Linked DNA regions of Homo sapiens: region 1 is linked to region 2. Evidence: promoter capture Hi-C in human tissues and cell types (Jung and others, 2019). All regions are on one chromosome and are shown on one strand. The core of a region is centred on a gene start or on the middle of the fragment in contact, and the rest is flanking DNA. Distances in the headings are between cores, read along the strand shown.

Region 1 (7,450 bases), core at 2,739-5,238, 50 kb after region 2:
ATTTTTCTTGATTTTATGTAAGTGTGTTAATAAGGGCAGTTCCTATGTGTTGGAGGTTAAAAATGTGAAATGTTAAATTTAAAAATAAAAGTCACAGTGTTGCCAGCCACAATGTGACTGTGTTAATACATAATATCTAACTGGCCTCTTTCTCAAGTACTGACACTGAGTCATCACACTTCACTTACTTTCCCATTTTCCCCTGGAGGGACGTTTCTGTTTTGTCAACCTGGAAAACACATAGTTTGCTGTCATATTGGATTCAGATTTAGTTGGGTATGAAAGTGATACATCAATATTCTAGTATGTGAATTTTCTTTTTATGGGAAGGAAATCTCTTATCTTTGCTTGTTCAGAAAGTCTCAACTCAAAAAAATGAGGCATTCATTTTTATCCTTGTACTGTAGTTTTATGATAGAAACTGTCCTCCTTGTTGTTACATTTATAAGCACCTCCTAAGCTCCTTTTTAGGACAGCTTCAGTGCTCTCTAATTTTTATAATCTATAGTCCAGATCGATCAGAATCTGCTGGACCAAGTGAGGATAAAAATGAATGCATTTCCCAATTCAGTGCAGGATTTGGGATGCCCAGAATTGAAAAACATAGATGTGTTAAGCGGATCTGTTTTAATATCCAGAAAAGTCATCCCTCAGCCTGGGCAAGATGATCTTGTGCTCATTACTTTACTTCCCAGAATGGAGATGATGCATAAACCACAATTTTAATTTGCTTTTTTTTGTGCATGTGTAGAATAAGCGACAAAATTTCAGCGGCTGTGATTATTATAATATTGCCATAAACCTCTCTAATGAAATGCCAGCAATGTTGAGACAGCTTTATTCAGGCATAGGTCAAAATAGCCATGCATATCAGTACAGGGCGATAAATCCTGGACTCCAAACAATAACACTGGGCCAGAAAGGAAGCAGATATTAAGGAAACAATTATTTTATTAATATGCACTTATGTAAGGCACTTTAGACACAGGCAAGGTAGATGATTACATGAGTTAATTAACTAATTAATTTTAGGTCATTTAGAGTATGTAAGGACATATGAAACACATTTTTGTGTCATCAAAAAACTAAGAATCCCTTGTGAGAGGCCTCTTATAGCTATGAGAAGATAACTTGTAATGCAAAGTGATAATTGATAAGTGTAGACAATAAGTGCAATTGGAGTTCAGAGAAGGGACAGATCACTTCCAGACAGATTAACTGAGCTATATTTCATGAAGAATGTGATATTTTAGTTGAATATGCAAATTAAAAGATTAAATGTTTGTCAAGTGCCTATTGCATGCAGTGCCTGCTCCTGAGCTCTGCGTGGGTATCAAGAAAATTTATGTCACAGTCTTGCCCTAGTAAAGTCTATAATGTGGCCAAGAAAATGACTCATAAACATATAAAACACAAATAACAATCAAAGATCTATTTCAAGGCAACGCTAGAAGTGATCATGACAGAAGGCAGTCATGATTAGTTGTGCTCATTAGTTATGCAAACAATTAATTGCTTTAGACATTAGCAAAAGGAGGCACTCACTTCCCTGACCTGTTGGCAGCATTTGACAAAAACAGTGCCTTCTGTCTTCCAGGACTCTACACACTCTTTGTTCTCCCCCTACCACTCTGGCTGCTGCTTTTCAGTCTCCTATGCTGGTTAATCCTCATCTATAAACACTAAAGTAATTGAGGGCTCCGCCTGTGGTCCTCTTCTCTCTTTTGTCCACATTAGCTCTGTTGCAAATCTGATGTAGTTCATGGCTTTAAATCCCATCTACATGCTGGTGATTGGCAAATTTTTATCTCCAGCCTAGACATTTTCCCTGAAGTCCTCCTTTGTTTCTCCAATTCCCCACTCAAATCTCTACTTAATTGTCTACAAGCCATCTCCAATTTAACATGTTCAAAACTGAGTTCCTAATTTCCTCTTTAAAACTTTCTCCCTTGTATTCTATCTCATCTCAGAAAATGGCAGCTCTACCTTCCAGTTGCTCAGGCAAAAATCCCTGGAGTCATCCTTAACTTTTTCTTTCTCTTAATTCCCATATCAGATCGATCAGCAAATTCTTTAGTTCTGCCTTCAAAATTTATCCAGAATTAGACCATGTCTCATCTCCTTTCTTACTTCCACTCTGGTTCAAGAACCTATCAATAACCTCCTGGATTTTTACAACTGTCTTGTGACCCATCTTTCTTCCTCTACCCTGTTTCAACCAAGCAGCCAGAGTGATCCTTTTAAAATATCAGTCAAATTATGTCACTCTTCTACTCAAAACCCTCCAATGACTTCCCCTCTCACTCTGATTAAAACCTAATATACTCATGATGACCTACAAGGTCCTACAGGGGCTGGCCCTCATTCTCACTGATGTCATCTATTTTTACCTTCTGACCTCTTCACTCTTTCTTGAACAAACCAGGAGCACTGCTGTTTCAAGCTCTTTGTTCTTGCTGTTTTCTTTGCCTTGAATGCTCTTCCCCAAAATAACTTCATAGCTTGCTACTTCATGTCCGTCAAGACTTTACTCAGTAAATCCTTCCTTCACCACCTCAATCTATCTTAGACTGGATTCCTCAGAAGCAGAGCCTGATAAAAGGATTTTAGATGGTATTGATTTGGGAGATGATACCCTGAAATAGCAGTAAGGGAACAGGGAAATGAGACAGAGAAAGAAGACAATATAGGGTACATTAATGAGTGGGTTAACTCTGTGGCCAAATAGGGCTCATTTCCCACTGGGAGCTTGGGGAGGCTGTACAGAACACATTGTCCTATGGGAGGAGTATTTACCCTCCTCAATTCCTGTTAGACATTGGCTAAGGGATGCTCCTGGGGGTGTTAATTCCTGGCACTTCTAACCTTGCCTGTGTGTAGGCAGAGCAGGCATCAGCGGTCAGAGAAAGCCTTTAGGTAGAAAATCAGAGATGCTTACACCAGAAGGCCCTTCACATGTCCAAGAATATTCAGAATCAAGGAGATATAAGTAAGGCATTGCCAGTGCTGCAGCCTCCCCAAAATTCCGTATCTTCCTTTTGCTGTTTTTGTTTTATCCCTATAACATTTAACCCTATATTTAATACAATATATTTTCCTTACTTATCTTGTTTACTTTTTTCCTTTATGAATCATGAATTTTGTCTCATTTGTTCACTGCTATATCCCCAGCACCTAATACAGTGCTTTATACATGAGCAGCAATAAATACTTATGGATTGAAAAAGAAATGAGTGGATGAACAACTTCAGGATGGGTAAGTGATCCAGGAAGTCTTAGAGAAGGGATGGGATTTGCACTGAGTAAACATTGGTTAGGTGGAGGCAGGGTCAGGAGAGCAGCCCAGCAGTGGAGAACCACAGGAGCAAGAGTAGGTGAGCTAACATAGGGTAAGTTTAAAAATGAGTTAATTCCTTTTGATAGTAGCAGATGGTCCTTATAAAAATAAAAATAACTGGAGTAAGACGAGATAGGTCTTGTCCAGGCAAACTGTCAGACTGAGGAATTTGAGATCTTTTCTGTAGGCAACTGGGAAGAAACAAATGTTTTAAAACAGAGGAATTTAAACTGTGTTTTAAACCCAATTAAACACGTTTTAGGAAGACTAATCTGAAGTTATTAGTAAGCTGATTTGGGGAAATAGGAAATAAAAATGAGTGTAGAAGCTTTTTCAGAGGCAGAAACTGGGGCCTGATAGAGTTTTACAAAGTGACTAAGAAAAGGCTAATTGAATGTTGGAGATAGTGTGGTTAAGCTATCAAGATCAGGGTTAGGGATGACAGAGGGGAGAGCCTGCATTGACCCTAAGGTCTAGAGTCTGGAATTTAGTGGTACAGCTAATAGATGATGCACCCAAAGACCAGTCCCCACTCCAGGGCTCACGCTTGTTTCCATCATCCTGGGCATACCCAGCAAAATCCAAACTCGGCTGAGTTTTGAGAATCTTCTGGAACTCAGGTGACCTAACATTGATTTGGGCACCTTGGATTTTTGACAAAGGTAGTTGTTCAAAAAAAAGAGACAAGTGAGAAATTTTTAGCAATTTAAAAATGTTCCCAGAACTGGCTCTGCTTCCTAAAATCAGCACTCACTCCTGCTCCCTTCCTTATCCTTATTGTCTGTGGTTCTTGGGATTCATACTGCAGCTTAATGCTGTGGGGAGCATCAGTCTACCTAGTAGTGCAAAGATCCCGCCCTGTCTCCAGATAAGGACTCTGGCAGTCCCATCATTTTACAGATCAATGAACATCTGAAGCACTTGTCTAGTTTGGGAACTGCCTTTAGCAGCTAGCAGTTTGGTCAAAATTCATTCCACAGTTTTCCTAAAAACAACAATAATAGCTACAATATATTGAGTACTTATTAGGAGCCAAGCATTATTCTAAACAACTTGTTTATATTAGTTAATATAATCCTCCCAGCAACTTATGAAGCAGGTTTAAGTGTTCCTAGTTGACTAATGAGGAAACCAAGGAACAAAGAGGTTAAGTAACTTATCCAAAGTCACACAGCTGGAATGTGGCTCCTCCTTGACACCTGCTCACCAGCCAGCTCCTGACCCTCGGGAGGATGGGTGAGGAGAGGTAAGGGAGGGGGAAGGTGTACTTGAACTGGTACCATCATAGACTAGCTTTACATTCTTTGGATTTTCTAGATATAATAATGTGGCACTCTTACAGGTACTTTCCTGGCCTTTTTCAGGCTATTCCCATGATGGTGGTGTTGGGGAGATTCTCTCTTGAAAGCCACTAGATCCAATTGCATCTGTCCCAGTTGGTGATTTGCAACTCTTTCCTGAGCCCCGAGGCATCCAGAGTGTACCTTCATATTCTGCCATTCAGCCTTGCAGGCAGAGTCATAGATATGTTTATACTAGCTTCCACACCTCACAGTGTCTGCAGCTGGTCCATAGGAAGCATTCAAGCATCCCTGACCCCCAAGAACTGTGGGAGTACAGATTCATCCCAACATAGCCATCACTTTCCTACTGCCACAGCTCCTTTAGGTTTCTCAGGTATGAGCTCAACAGAGGTGACTTTGAAACAGTTCACTGAACTTTCCTTTGCAAGTTCTGCATATGGCAAACCATCTCCCGCTCACTTTGGTATCTGATAGCTAAGAAATTGATGCCTCAACTGAAATTCAGGCAGGAGGTGTTTGTTTTTTAACCTTTTTGGTATGTTTACTATCTTCATGGGATTCCATGGAGACATCCTGGGGAAGAAAACATGATATGGACTAGCATAGTATGGGCCATGAAATCAAACAGCTCCTGGAGTGCCATGCGGCAGGAGGCAAAGCAGAAAAGAGGTGCAAAGGCAAGGCCACGAAGAGCCCCATGCCAGAAGAACTGACTTCATGTGTGTGGGGAAGGGAAACCATTGGAAATTTAAACAGTAATGCTTAACTTAGATGTCATGATCAAGTGACATTCCCCAAGGGAAAAAATGTGGGAATTACAGTGGTCAAGTGATTAAATCCTGGAAACACCAGAATTTACAACACAGATGGACTTCATGGATATTTGTTCTATGTTGTACCAGTTTCGTCCGTAATTCCTGTGTTACTACTCAAGTCTACTGTCACACATCTGCCCACCACATCTTTTTGAGCCTTCTGTTTCAGCCTTCTTTTTTCCTTTCATTTATCATCTCTAGGAAATTTTTCTTTTCCTTTCTTTTGCAAAAGCATTTCCTCATTTTTCAAATTATTTTCAGTGAGTTCTAGTTTTTATTGTATTATTGAAGATTAGAACTTTGTAATTGTGTCATTAAGTCTGGAAAAAAATGGGTGTTAATGCTAAGTCATCCCTGATATCAGTAATTTCTTTCAGATATTGGGCCTAAAGGATATGGATGCTTGTTGAAAAAGTTATGAGTATTGCTATAAGCTCTCAGTTTGAGTATGTACAGGAAGAAGAAATAAACACACATGTACACACATTCACACACACCCTCACACAGTGAGTACTCAAGTGATCAAAGCAAAAAATGTTTACCCCATTCATCATGCCCAGCCACAAGCCTTTAAATATAATTTTTTGGCTGACATGGATACATTAAAAAATTATAAATTTTTCCTATAATCTCACTGATTGTTCCAAAAAGTTTCCAAATTACTTTCTCTATATTTCAACAATATAAATCATAGTGTTTAGTCTATGCTTTCTAAACAATTTCTGAAAAGATTACAAAATATACTAGCCCTCCAGCTCAAAAGACCTATTTTTTAGCAGGACTGTTTGTCTTTGGAACATTTCATATAAAATTCAAAGTAGGAAAAGGAAGGCAAGACCACCCCAAACCTCTGCTGAGTAACTTCTTTTCTGCCTGTCCCTGTGTCAAGGCAGAGAAGAGAAACAAAGGCAGAGACCTTTAGTCAACTATTTACCTTTTACTCAAGGATACCAATATAATAACTTTGCTTTTCTATTACTAGTCAAAACAAATTTTCTGTTGGACTTTTTTTTAATTTTAATTTTGATTTTAAGTTCCAGGGCTGTTGGACTTCTTAACTCAGGGACTTCTCGAGTTTGAACCCAGCCTCTTTCTCTGGCTTTGACTGTTGCCTCTGTCCTTCCTCACACACATGCTGAGATTTCTGTTCCAGAACTCCCACTCCCCTTTCTGCAAAGGGACTAACATCTCTGTGGCTAATGTAGGTCTGTCCACATTAGTATCTTCTGGCCTGGAATGTTTTCTGGCAGTTATCAGGTAACTTAAGCATTTATCTGCAAGATTAGTTAAAAGACTTGCTGTATAGCTGTGATATTGATTCAACTCATAGTTTGACTCAATTAGCCAGTTTCAAATCCAGTTTCACAGCAGGAAATTTCACACATACAAATCAGCACTTTTGAGAAGCCTGATGAAATAATGGCTAGTTTACCCTGAAACGCTTTGTAATCTAGAAGCCAACTGTCTCAGTAAATGCCATAGTAATGAGTTAATTATCCTAGCCCAGTGGTTGCTGGGGCTTTCTGCCAACATCCTTTTTTTCCACTTGCTGCAATTTCTATCTCACAAGCAGTCCTCTTCTCAACTTCCTTACTAAAAAATAAAACAAAACCTACTTTATCCTCTCAGAATGTCCCCAGTGAGTCTCCACTTCTCAAATGTTTGGTAACCCATGGCAGCTTTCTTCCACTTCCACCTTACTGCAGTCTCAATATCATTGGGTTTTGATGGCTTCAGCATTAATAATGGATCAATCTAATTTAGAGGATGCATCCAGGCCTCACCAAAATGTTGTGTGTGGAACTGTCCTACAGAAGGAGTAGAGGGCACCAAGGTTCTATTAGACCAAATCAGATGATGGCCAAGGAGAATTTGCCCTATATTAATTCTAATGTAATTACTACATAAGTTCAGAGCCCAGAATTGGGGCCCTATTTGAACCTGGATTTACTGCAAAACTACACCAAATCCAAACACTGAAGACTTTTCTAGAA
Region 2 (6,922 bases), core at 751-3,250:
TTTCGCATTTGTTTGTGTGTGATTTTGTCTACTTGAAACACTAGTCGAATGCAGAAAACTACCCAGATGACCTGAGCCACATAAGAATACACAAAACTCACACAGGTACAATCCTCAAACCTTACCAGTGACCTCAGTTCACTGCCTGAGTTATGAGCCACACCCATCCACATCTGGTGTAATAAATTTCCCCCGATTTCAAATAATGCTTCTTCTGCCATTTCACAACCCTTAAGCTGTGACCTTTCTGAGGCCCATTTCCACAAGCAAATGCCGTGTCTTTTTCAAGATAAAGGGTTATATTTGCTGTAGTATTTATGCATTTCTTAAGCATTTATCATGTGTAAATTCTTGCTACCATTTTTATTAGGTCTTGATCTGATTTTTATGGTCCATTGACAAAGTTTCTGAGTGCTCTGTCCTAAACCTCATGTTACCCATTAAGTCCTGTAGTTTTAATTGAACTTTTTTTTTCAGTGATACCGTATCTAAATAAATCCCTGGTGGTTACCAGGTGAATATAAATAAGTGTGTATATGCATACATACATTCATACATATATAATATTCGAACACAATTGAGGCATTTTGACATAAATCCAAAAAATTCCTTTTATATTTTAGAGGTAAATAAGCCTTTAAAAGTATTTATTAAATGTACTTGGGAGGATTTATTCAAAAAAGACTATCAATTATATTAAATAAAAGCCATTCAATACGCCAAGCTATATATAGATGTCTCCATAGTGGGTGAAGATGTGTCATTTATCTTTTAAGATAATTATGCAAACTATATTGAGCACACACATCCTGAGCTGGGAAATGACTTTTACATCTTTCTCCTCATTTATAAATCTTTTCCAACAGAAGTTATGCAAGATTCAGACTGGTCAGCACAGAGCTGGATTTTGGTGGTCCCTTTACAATAGGAGAGAATCCATTTTCCTCCTTAGGGTCTTTCTTTTCTTTAACGAAGGCATACAGAGCACTCAGCACATTCCCAGAGCTTCTTAGAATTTTTCCCTTGAGAGATCTCAGGAAATATGAGGAAAAACAACTTCAAAAAAATTAATGAAAGGCCTATCACTGTCTGCCTTTCTCTCTTTTAATCCCTGCCCTATCCTTTCTACTTTCTAGAAGTGTAGTGCCCCTTCAGTTTCAAACATTTTTCCTCTCCTTAAATTCCCAAGGTGGGATGCCCTTTTCTGGCACTCCGTCTATGAAAGGGACAGGGAAAAGATCTTATAGAAACTGAACCCTGACACGGGGCTTATTTTCCTAAGGACCAAAACATAAAAGGACAGGGTGGGACCATGGAAGGATTAATTTCAGGCAAGGGCAGCCTGTGGAGAGTGAGAAATCTGAAAAGGCTCTAGGCTTCTATGGGCATTCCCCTCCACTTCTTCTGCCTGCTGCCAGATGACTCTCACATGTGAATCCTTATTTCCTCAGGAATGCGGATCAGGGTTTGGCAAGTATGTTTTCAGTAAATAATTGCTGAATGTTCAACGCTTAAAGGCAGAAGCATAACTTTGAGTGTGCACAGTAATCACTGAAAATGATTCTGTACTCACCGTTTTGATGCAAATGCAAATTCTCATAGCCCCTGCACTGACTCCGTGGGTCACCTGTGAGTAACTCTAGCCAAAAGCCACGCACAAGCCCTGGTCTGCCTCCAGGCAGCAGACCACAACACAGTGCCCTGAGTGCACCTGCACACACCCATGGGCACACATTAAACCCATAAACGGCGGGTTATGCTAACGTGTACTTCCTTCCTCACTGCCTCACCTTGTTCATTTTCCTTTTTCCCCACCCCTCACCCCATACAATAGGATTTTTGTTTGCTTCAGTAGCATGTGACAGCACAGTCCCTGCTTTGCCTAGCTCTGTGCTGCAAGTCTCTCAGGTAACAGGTGGCAGCTTCCCCTGTTGGATTCTAGGTTTAAAAAAGAATGACCTCATGTGGGTGGAGCTCTGGGACTTCGTAGAGGTGGTGGCAGTCACAGCCAGGTAACCCTGGAGTGAAGCGGTTTAGTTAGAAGGGAGCAGATAAACTCGTCACTCTAGTAGCTTTAACCCTCACCCTGAGGCACCTTAGCAATCAGCCATTGCCTGCAAGCCTCCAAAGCTTGTCTTTGCCTAATATGGAGCCCAAAGAAGCCACTGGGAAAGAAAACATGGTCACCAAGAAAAAGAATCTGGCCTTCTTGAGGTCTAGACTCTATATGCTGGAGAGAAGGAAGACTGACACTGTGGTTGAGAGCAGTGTTTCTGGGGACCACTCTGGCACCTTGAGGAGGAGCCAATCTGACAGGACCGAATACAACCAGAAATTACAAGGTAACCAAAAAGAAATCAATTGTCCCAGTTACTGCACTCCCAGCTCCATTTCTGCTACGTTTCCAATTGCAAAGAAAACACACAAGGCAGAGGGGAAAATTGAATACCACCTCTCCTTCCCACAAAATAAGAAGATGAAAGTAAATGTGACCTATAAATTATAGGGAAAAAAATTTATTACGTGATTCAATGTTAAAGAGTCAATTCCGAATTACTCTTAATATTGCTGTGTTTTTCTTTTTTTTTTCCTGGTGAGGGTAATCATTTTTCTTCTAACTTCCTCTTTTCTTCTCCCTTCTCTACCCAACTTAAGAAGTGGGAAACACTGGAAAGCAAATGAGTTAGAAACCTACAAAAGATTGTTTATCTCAATGGGTAGATATGTGATATTACACCATGAGATATATCTAGGTAATGGTACTGAACTATGATTGTGGTTATCTTAAATAGGGGCATGAAACTATAATCGTGTCTGTGACAAAGAAGGAATGTTATAGTCAGAGAGACGGTATAAAAAGATTTGCTGAAATTCACTTAGGTGATTATTTCCTTTGAGTAAATTGAATAATACTCAAATATGGTAAGAAATGTTTAGCATGCTTATTTTGAATGACATTTGAGGAAATAACTTCAGTTTATTTTGTGATGGTACAAAGATAATTTGGCACAGTTATGATAGCACATCATTTGTTTCAGGGCCTTAATCTATATCCTGTCCTATCTATCCTTTCTTTCTCTCCTGTTTCCTGAAGGTCATTTGTTCTAGTAAAATTTCATTTTGATGTTGATATTGGGCAGCATTTTAAGTCTTTTCTTCGGTACTTGTTATGTGGTCCTCCAGAACTTGCCTCTCCTGCTTTTAGCACAAGGTGTGTCTGAACTCTCATCATCCCACTGTGAGCTGTCGTTTTGGATTTAAAAACTGTGATGAGGTCAGAAAGACCGATAGGACATGCTTATATTTAACAAATCTCTTTCCACAAATATGAGCTTAGATTTAGTTATGCAAATTAATTAAGTTAAATAAGTTAAATTAAATGCATTTAAATTAAATCTAAAAATTATTACTATAAGTTAATGTGTAAAAATAAAAAAAAAATTACCAGTAGTTCAGCACTAAAGCACAGCATCAATCTTATCCTCAAATACTTTTTTTTTAAAATGAGGGAGAGCATTGTTTAATCTTTGAAATTAATTTTTCTCCAAGCAATAGATACATTGGAAAGAATGGATGTCTTAAAATTTCAACTTTTATTTTAGATTCAGGGGGTATATATGTGTGTTTGTTACTTGCGTATTTTGTGTGATGCTGCGATTTGGGGTACAAATGATCTCATCACCTGGGTACTGAGCATAGTACCCAGTAGGTGGTTTTTCAGCCCTTGCCTCTGTCCGTTTCTCGCCACTCCAGTAGTCTCCAGTATCTATTGTTGCCACCTTTATGTCCATGTATGTCTAATGTTTAGCTCTCACTCATAAGTGAGAACATGCAGTATTTGGTTTGCTGTTCCAGCATTAATTTGCTTAGGATAATGGCCTCCGGTTGTATCCATGTTGCTGTAAAGGACATGATTTTGTTCTTTCTTCTGGCTGTGTAGTATTCCATGATGAATATGTACCATGAGAATTTAAAATCATACACATTTAGTTTCTAAACCTGGTTCTTCAACTTACTACCAATTAGAACTTGAGCAAATTACTTGAAATATCTGAGCCTCAATTTTCCTGTCTGTGAAAGTGGGACTAATGATACTTGCCACATAGTGTTGTTGGGAGATTGAAATTAGATAATTACAAAACATCTAGTATACTGGCTGATAAATTTTAGGAATAATGGGTACCATAATGATAAAACAGAACTTGCCCAATATTAATCGAAGTTTGTATACCTTATTTCTCTTTTTCAATTCTTTTTTGTCCTTTGATAAAGAGACCACATCTAGAAATTCAGGAAAAGCCCATTGCTTTATCCCTAATGACATGTTTTTTCTGTCTGAGTTTCACTAATTCAGCATCTATCAGAGTCTCCATTAGCAAAATAAAAACAGAAAATAATTTTTGCTATTCACAAATTTTTGCTTACTAAATTTTCCTAAAAAAATAAGTCTATGACCACACAAGAGAGCAGACATGGGTTGGTTACTTTGCAGAAGACCTCAGACTTCTTACGCACTTCATTTGATTTGTGGCTTTCCTGTGCTCTGTTGGATTCTTTGAAGGTGGAAGGCAAAACTCAGCAGTTAATACATGCTTCTAGTCTGTGCTTGAGAAAAATCACCAAGAAGTATAGAGGAGCACATAAGCCATAAAGATAGGCTGGCCTCCTGAGAAGTAACATCTTAAAAACGTAACCCTTAAAAGAATCCAAGTCTGATTATCGAACGCCTAATAGAGCTTTTAGCATGGTTCGACTAGAACAGGGAAGGCGACAAGGGAAGGCATTTTCTCATTAATGTTCAAAGCAATCAGTTCTGTGCGTTTGTTCTCTGGCCTGTACGATACCCATTATTATGCAGATGAGTCCTAAATCACCTTAAGAAGCTCTTTATTATTCAAATGCCGAGAGATTTTCCTCTCCCTTTCTTGGAACTGGTGGTCCCTGGGAGGCACTGAATAAACACCTGGACTGGTTAGAGCCCTCAGATAGATGGCCTAAAGCTCTTGTGAGGTCAAAGAGTGCTTTCAAATACTGGAATTTCTGGCAACACCACATTCCTCAAATTATTTAGCTGGTTATTTAATTAGTTATTTAATTGGTTGTCCTTCAATGCTATATTACCTGAGTAAAATTCACTGCTCTAACTCTCTGGGGAAGCAAGTTCTCTGGGTTCCGTAAAATGTAAGATTTTTCTTTGGTGCTCTTGAGCTTGTCTTTTAACTCATGATACCTAGTCTATCTGTTCAATTCAATTTCTCACATCACTTTAGTAGCATGAAACTTAAGTTGTAATAACAATTTTAAAAATGGTACACTGGCTGAATTAAAACGATAGAACATGGCTCTAACCAGGACATCCTAAAACCTTTGCAGAAGATTGTGATCACATCAACATAGTCATTCCTACTAAGCCTGGAGTTGTATAATAATAGAAAGGCCACCCTTAGGCTCCCTTACTCCTTGAACAGATTAATTCAGTTGACTAGCATTTATTGAATATGTTATACCTTGTTCTTTGAAATTAATTTTTCTCAAGGCCCTTGATACATTGGAAAGAATACAAATTGTAAAATCATACACATTTGGTAAATTGACATTTATTGAATGTTTTAGATGCTGTGTCTTGAGGGTTACAATGAACAGCAAAAACAGAATATGTGCCAGGAATTACAACTACAAAATCATCAAGAAAACATGTCTGACCTTTACTCCAAAGAGGCTCAAAGTCTGGTTGGGAAAGATAAGACAGGTAAACAAATAAATACAATAAAGTGGCATGATAGAAGTGGAGGTAGGATCAGTGGGTCCACAAAAGGAGGAAACGGTCTATTCAGGACTGCATGAAGGAGGTTGTCAGAAAATGGTGTCTCTAAGAAATGGTAAGGGTAGGGATGAGGGAAGGTACAGGTAAGAGAATGGCATTTTAACCTCTTCACTGTATTTAGCTCTGTCTGAAATGGTTTTTGTTTCCTTGTTTATCACCTGTTATTGACTGTTGTTCCCCTCCCTTTTCTCTCCCTCCCCGCTCATACACCATGAAAGAAACCCTATCTGTCTTGTTAACTGTTGCATCTCAGCAGCCCAGAATACAGTAAACACTCAGTAACTGTTAAATAGAGTGAATGACTTGAATGATCAGGCCCAAGCAGGAAACTGGTGTGAAGAAAGACACCATGGCCTGAAATAAGAGCCATTGTATTTATCTAAATATGTGAGGACACATGTTTCTATCAGAAAGATGATTCTTCAGTTAAATGAACATCAGAGATTAAAATGTACAGAATTTATATAATAAGTAATTCTTAGTGGAAGCCTGTTTCATTCCCAACTCGACCTTTCAGAGCACACAACAACCATATTTCAAAAATTCCTCTTCTATTAGTGACAAGAGCCATCTTAACTTCCACTAGCTCAATTCCTCATTTCCATTCTACTGGGAGCCATAGAAATTACCTAAATACAAGAAATTTAGTGGTTGAGTTGTAAAAACTCAGAAAGGGTTTCATAAATACTTATATACATGATCTCTACATTTGAAATATGCCTAATTTAAATAGTTATACAGAACTGTGTCTGTGCATATGCAGATATATATGTGTATATATATGTGTGTATATATATATATCTCCAGTATGTAGATATAGATATACATGTATGTACTTGTATGTGTTCGTGTGTGTACTTGAGACACTTTTTTGCAATGATTAGACTTTTTATTGAAAGTTACTATAAAATTTGAAGAACAAAAAGAACAAAAGTTTACTAACATTCAGGAGTCTTTTCTGAAAACCATATATGAATTATATCACTGACATTATAGGTTTCCTCTCAGTATGGGTACTATGGACTGAATGTTTGTATTCCTCTAAAATTCCTATGTGAAACCTAATCCCCAATGTGACAGTATTAGGAGGTGGGGTCT

Evidence for each region. Contacts are between HindIII fragments. The study calls those that stand out against the background at their distance.
Region 1: a fragment that was not itself captured here is called in contact with the fragment with the promoter of ARHGEF38 in region 2 in 1 of the 25 tissues and cell types used here (H1 embryonic stem cells).

The regions. Positions count from the first base shown.
Region 1 is chr4:105,598,814-105,606,263 of GRCh38, forward strand. All of the region lies in intron 2 of ARHGEF38 (Rho guanine nucleotide exchange factor 38), which reads left to right. Among named protein-coding and RNA genes, the nearest start is that of ARHGEF38-IT1, 41 kb to the left of the region's middle. The HindIII fragment of the contact is 5,874 bases long and covers 1,052-6,925 here.
Region 2 is chr4:105,550,620-105,557,541 of GRCh38, forward strand. ARHGEF38 (Rho guanine nucleotide exchange factor 38) reads left to right here and starts at 2,001. Exons shown (of 14, transcript NM_001242729.2): 1 at 2,001-2,342. The coding sequence starts at 2,147. It overlaps LOC105377352 (a long non-coding RNA gene), which reads right to left and starts at 1,665. Exons shown (of 5, transcript NR_188418.1): 1 at 1,574-1,665. RefSeq lists enhancers at 4,609-5,158, 5,710-6,259. The HindIII fragment of the contact is 7,071 bases long and covers 1-4,541 here.